Linked DNA regions of Homo sapiens: region 2 is linked to region 1. The links are contacts of gene promoters, found by promoter capture Hi-C in blood cells and fetal thymus (Javierre and others, 2016). All regions are on one chromosome and are shown on one strand. The core of a region is centred on a gene start or on the middle of the fragment in contact, and the rest is flanking DNA. Distances in the headings are between cores, read along the strand shown. Region 1 holds the start of WAPL (WAPL cohesin release factor). Region 2 overlaps CPEB3 (cytoplasmic polyadenylation element binding protein 3).

The links. The method cuts DNA at HindIII sites, captures the fragments that hold promoters and counts their contacts. A CHiCAGO score of 5 or more calls a contact.
Region 2: a fragment that was not itself captured here is called in contact with the fragment with the promoter of WAPL in region 1 in 1 of 17 cell types (neutrophils); the score reaches 5.9 in neutrophils.

What each region holds. Positions count from the first base shown.
Region 1 is chr10:86,520,382-86,523,081 of GRCh38, reverse strand. WAPL (WAPL cohesin release factor) reads left to right here and starts at 1,290. Exons shown (of 19, transcript NM_015045.5): 1 at 1,290-1,717. It overlaps WAPL-DT (WAPL divergent transcript), which reads right to left and starts at 1,135. Exons shown (of 2, transcript NR_186498.1): 1 at 673-1,135; 2 at 1-573. RefSeq lists silencers at 677-1,236, 1,377-1,796. The HindIII fragment of the contact is 16,574 bases long and covers 1-2,700 here.
Region 2 is chr10:92,283,831-92,286,530 of GRCh38, reverse strand. The region is part of intron 1 of CPEB3 (cytoplasmic polyadenylation element binding protein 3); the gene reads left to right. Among named protein-coding and RNA genes, the nearest start is that of CPEB3, 5.9 kb to the left of the region's middle. The HindIII fragment of the contact is 3,496 bases long and covers 1-2,700 here.

The DNA of each region.
Region 1 (2,700 bases), core at 41-2,540:
ATTTGGAGTTTCCCCGATTATACCGGAGGGAGCTGGATAACTTCTGGGTGCATTAAAAGCAAATTATCCATTTGTGGGAGAAGGGCGGGCTTCTCACTGAAAGCAATTAGTAGTTTTCTAATTTCCCAGGTGGGTCTCCATTAACCGCCTAACAAACACCAAGGCTGTCGGAGTCCGACGAATCATGCACCTCTCTTAGGGGGAACTGGTTGCGCTACTCTTTAGAACGCTGTTTTCCCATGGTAGCCTTAAAAAAAACTTACCAATTTTCTGAATTAGGTAACACATTGAATGGGAAAAACCTAAGATAGCACAAAAAGGCGTACAGCGAAAAATTAAGACTCCTTCCTCCCGTCATCCGCCACCTCACTGTCCTCCCTAGAGGCAATCGCTGGTTCACTTCTTTAAACTTTTTATTATGGAAAATTTCAGATACACAAGTAAAGAGACTGTATGATGAGCACATATGCTCGCATCACGCAGCTTCAACGATGAAAAACGTTCTGCCAGCTTGTTTTATTCCTCTCCCCCAGTTTTCATAGGCGTATTTTACAGTCCTGACACCAGATCACTCTGTCAACACATCAGTAGGTCTTAAAAAAAAAAAAACAAAAAACCATAACCACATTACCGTTACCACACCCAACAAAGTTAATGATAATTGCTCAATACCATCCAATATTCTCGGGGCCACTTTCAATCGGTGAGGGGCAGACGGACTTAGAGGAAGGACTGCAGGGCTGGAGGGGCGCGAAAAAGCGAGGGGCGACGCTGCTCGTGGCCTCGGGTGTCCGGCGCCTCGCGGTCCCCGCCATCGTCACCTACGCCGGGCCAGGACCGACCAGGCCAGGTCGAGGGCGGCTCTTGACCACGCGCCCCCTGCCTCCCAGCTCCCGGGCGGCGGCCTCCGCAGGCCCGGCACAGCTGCACAGCCCGCGGTCCCCAGGCACCGGCGGGTCCCTGGAGGGGAAGCGATTGATACAGCTGCCTGCACTGCGCCACCCGCCCGGCTGCCCATCTCCGTGGCACCTGCGTCTCCCGGCTGGGCCGGGAGCTAGAAGTGGCTGCCGAGACCGGGAGGGCCCGGCCAGTCGCCCGCTCCCGCTCCCGCGCCTGGTCCTCGGCCCGCGACCTCGCGGACCTGGACTACAACTCCCGTCGGGCTCCGCGGCCGGGCCAATGGCGGGCGCCGGAGCATGCGGGGCGCAGCGCCTGCGCGGCGGTTTGAGTAAGCGGCTGCGCGATTGGCTGCGGGGTCGGGCGGCCGCGCGGGGACTGTGGGAAGCGGAGTGACGGAGCGAGCGGCTGTTGGAGGAAGGAGGTGGGGGCCGGGAGCGCAAATGGCGTTGAGATGGTTCAGGGCCCTGTTCAAACTCCAGCACTGACCATTCACCGGCGGAAGCGGCGGCGCAGGAGGCGGCGGCGGCCCAGCGGGGGCACACAGCAGGCTCTGTTACCAGCTCCAGCAGTGGCGGCCAGCGAGAGCTAGGCCTGGGCCCGGCCGGCGGCGCTCGAGGCGGGGAGGGAAGTTGCGGGGCCGCCGCTCCTGCCCCCCCAACCGGGCTTCCTATTTACCGAAAGCAGAGTCCCTCGCCTCTCTCGGCTCTCACCTGCCGGCCCTGCTCTCCCGCGCGAGGGTTCCGCGCCCGCCCGCGGGCCGTAGGGAGCGGGAGAGGCGGAGGCGGCCCGTGGCCAAAGCACCCGCCAGGCTCCGAGGGTAAGTGAGGTGTCGGGCGGCCGCCTAGGCCGGGAGGGAGCCGGGAGGGTGGGGGAGGCAGAGGCTGGGAGCGGGCGGTGGAAGTCTCACTGCCTCGCCCACCGGGCCGCTGAGGAAGTTGGGCAGGGGAATGACCTGAGGAACTCTTTTTTTCCCCTTTTATTTTCCTTTTTCGGAGTTCTTTTTCGGGCGACTGCTGATTGACTTAGCTCCCCAAACCCAGTCAAGTGTGTTGATTTCAGCCCCGAGTCCTTTCCCGTGGTTTCATCCGCCTCTGGCCGCCACTGGGGCCTTGCACTGCCTTAAGGATTCGGTGGCAGAGGCTTCCGGGGCGTCGAAAGTGACCTCCCTTTCCTGGGCGGCGCGGGTTGGGAGGAGAAAAGTTGCATTGAGTGTCTAGTCCGAGGGGTCCATCGCGCCCACTGCCCGTGGCGCCCCGGCTGTCCCCAGGTGAGGATTTCTGGTTAGTCAGGTTCGTCCCGTCCGCTTTCCATCTTTAATGGAAGCCCTTAAAGCCTTTGGGGATCGGGAAGACGCTAGATTAGGGTGGGAGTGAAGTATAAAGGCTTTTTGCTTTTTTTTTTTTTTTTTTTTTTTTAAATCACAGCGCACTTCTCTCAAAATTCGACCTGATTTTGGGCTAGGGCAAAAGCCGAACGACCGAAAAGACTTAGTCGTCAATCATTCTTTCCTTTTTAGTTAGGACAGTCTTTGGAGTTTAAAGGTTGAGCAAGATTGTGTACTTGAAACACTTAAAATTTAACTTCAAGGACGTCTGCACACTTATTTTGGAATCTGTAGTGCTTTACGCTTAGATAATGCCATTGCAAAGACATTTTATTGTGGGAAACGATAAAGGCAATCAGGAGGAGATATTATATAATGAACTTCTCTGTACCCATCGCTTGGATTTAGCAGTGACTATTAAACAAATTTATTTCATCTATACACTTCTCATTCCTTAATGTTGGAAAATCGCTGAC
Region 2 (2,700 bases), core at 45-2,544, 5.8 Mb before region 1:
TCACTGCAACCTCCCACTCCCAGGTTCAAGAGATTCTCATGCCTCAGCCACCTGAGTAGGTGGGATCACAGGCATGCATCACCACGCCCAGCTAATTTTTGTATTTTTAGTAGAGATGAGGTTTCTCCATGTTGCCCAGGCTGGTCTTGAACTCCTGACCTCAAGTGATCCACTTGCCTTGGCCTCCCAAAGTGCTGAGATTGCAGGCATGAGCCACTGTGCCTGGCCTATAGCTACCCTTCAGAGGCATACAATCTACATACCTAAATATGTTTATATTTAGAAAAATAAAAGCAGGCTGGGTGTGGTAGCTCACGCCTGTAATCCCAGCACTTTGGGAGGCCGAGGTGGGCAGATCACAAGGTCAGGAGATCGAAACCATCCTGGCTAACACAGTGAAACCCTGTCTCTACTAAAAATACAAAAAATTAGCCGGGCATGGTGGCGGGCGCCTGTAGTCCCAGCTACTCGGGAGGCCAAGGCTGGAGAATGGCGTGAATCCATGAGGCGGAGCTTGCAGTGAGCCGAGATTGTACCACTGCACTCCAGCCTGGGGACAGACTCCCTCTCAAAAAAAAAAAAAGAAAAAAGCAAATAAAACAGAGTATAATAATGAAATATTGTATAATGATAACATGATAGCATTTGAGGAAGTGTCAAATAAACAGCATAGAAATTTAGAGTGATGTAGAAGTTCCACTGGAAACTGTTGTGGACTGGTGTGTTAAAGAGAGCTTTGTAAAACCAATTTAGGCTCTACTTTGTAGCAAGAGGAGTAATTAATGTAGGTGAAGAGGTAAAGAAGGATCTTGGGTCTGGGTAAGAATGAAAGGATGTAAAGAAAGAAGTTATCCTTTATAACTTGAACTATAGATCTGTTATGTAAGCGGAAAATATGAAGGGCTGGTGCTGTGGTTTGAATGTGTCCCCCAATGTTCATATGTTAGAAACTTAAATTCTGGCTGAGCACGGTGGCTCATGCCTGTAATCCCAGCACTTTGGGATGCCGAGGCGGGCAAATCACTTGAGGTCAGGAGTTCGAGACCAGCCTGGCCAACATGGTGAAACTCCATCTCTACTAAAAATACAAACATTAACCAGGCATGGTGGTGTGTGCCTATAATCCCAGCTACTCGGGAGGCTGAGGCAGGAGAATCACTTGAACCCAGGAGGCGGAGGTTGCAGTGAGCTGAGATTGTGCCGCTACACTCCAGCCTGGGCAACCGAGTGACACTGTGTCTCAAAAAATAAAAATAAGAAAGAAAGAAAGAAAGAAACTTTAATGCAGCAGTCTTGAGAGATGGGATTATTAAGAGGTGATGAGGTTGTGAGGGCTCTGCCCTCATGAATGGATTAATATAGTTATCAAGGGAATGAGTTCATTATCTTGAGAGCAGGTTTGTTATAAAAGTGAGTTTGGTCTTCTCTTGCTCTCTGTCTTGCACTTTCACCATGTGATTCCTTCTGCCATATTATGGTGCAGCAGGAAGGCTCTTACCAGTTTATGCCCCTTGATCTTGGACTTCCCAGCCTCCAGAACTGTGAACCAAGTAAATTTCTTTTCTTTATAAATTACCTATTCTCAGGTGTTCTGTTATAGAAGCATAAAATGGACGAAGACAACTGGTTAAATCGGGAGAATAGTTAAAAAACCTTGAATCTATTAATTCATTTAAAAAATATTGATTGTATGTGACAGGCGCTAAGCTAGGGACTGAAGATACAATGATGAGCAAAAACAAGCACAGTTTTTACCTTGTTTGTGGGGTTTATAGTTTATTATGAGAAGGATTATCACATAAATAAATGTATCAAATTGCAAATGTGGTACATAGTGTTGTGAGAGATTATAACTAGGATTTGACTTAGACCAGGAGGTCATGGAAAGTTTCTCTGAGGTAGTGTCTGTTATACCGAGGCCCCAAGAAAAGCAGGCATTAACTAGATAAAGGGAAGAGGGAAGAACATTCCAGGCCAAAGAACAGCGTGTACAAATGCCTTGTGAAGGAAATGATGAATAGAAGAAACTGAAACAGAAAGGAGATCTTGAGGCAAGAGAAAACCAAAAATATCAGTGAGTGAAAGGCTGTGAAACAAAGAGCTTTGTAGGCCAGTTTAAGGAATTTTGCCCTACCCTAGGAGAGGAGGAAGCTGCTTGTGGGAGGGTTTAGGCGTAAGAAATAGACCCCATTCTGGCCGGGCGTGGTGGCTCATGCATGTAATCCCAGCACTTTGGGAGGCTGAGGCGGGCGGATGACGAGGTCAAGAGATGGAGACCATCCTGGCCAAAATGGTGAAACTCCGTCTCTACTAAAAATACAAAAATTAGCTGGGTGTGGTGGTGTGTGCCTGTAGTCCCAGCTAGTCAAGAGGCTAAGGCAGGAGAATTGCTTGAACCCTGGAGGCGGAGGTTGCAGTGAGCCGAGATTGCACCACTGCACTCCAGCCTGGTGACAGAGTGAGACTCTGTCTCAGGAAAAAAAAAAAAAAGAGACCCCATTCTGGGCCGGGCACAGTGGCTCACACCTGTAATCCCAGCACTTGGGAGGCTGAGGCAGGTGGATCACCTGAGGTCAGGAGTTCGCGACCACCCTGGACAACATGGTGAAACCCCGTCTCTACTAAAAATACAAAAAAATAGCCAGGTGTGGTGGCGAGGACCTGTAATCCCAGCTACTCGGGAGGCTGAGGCAGGAGAAT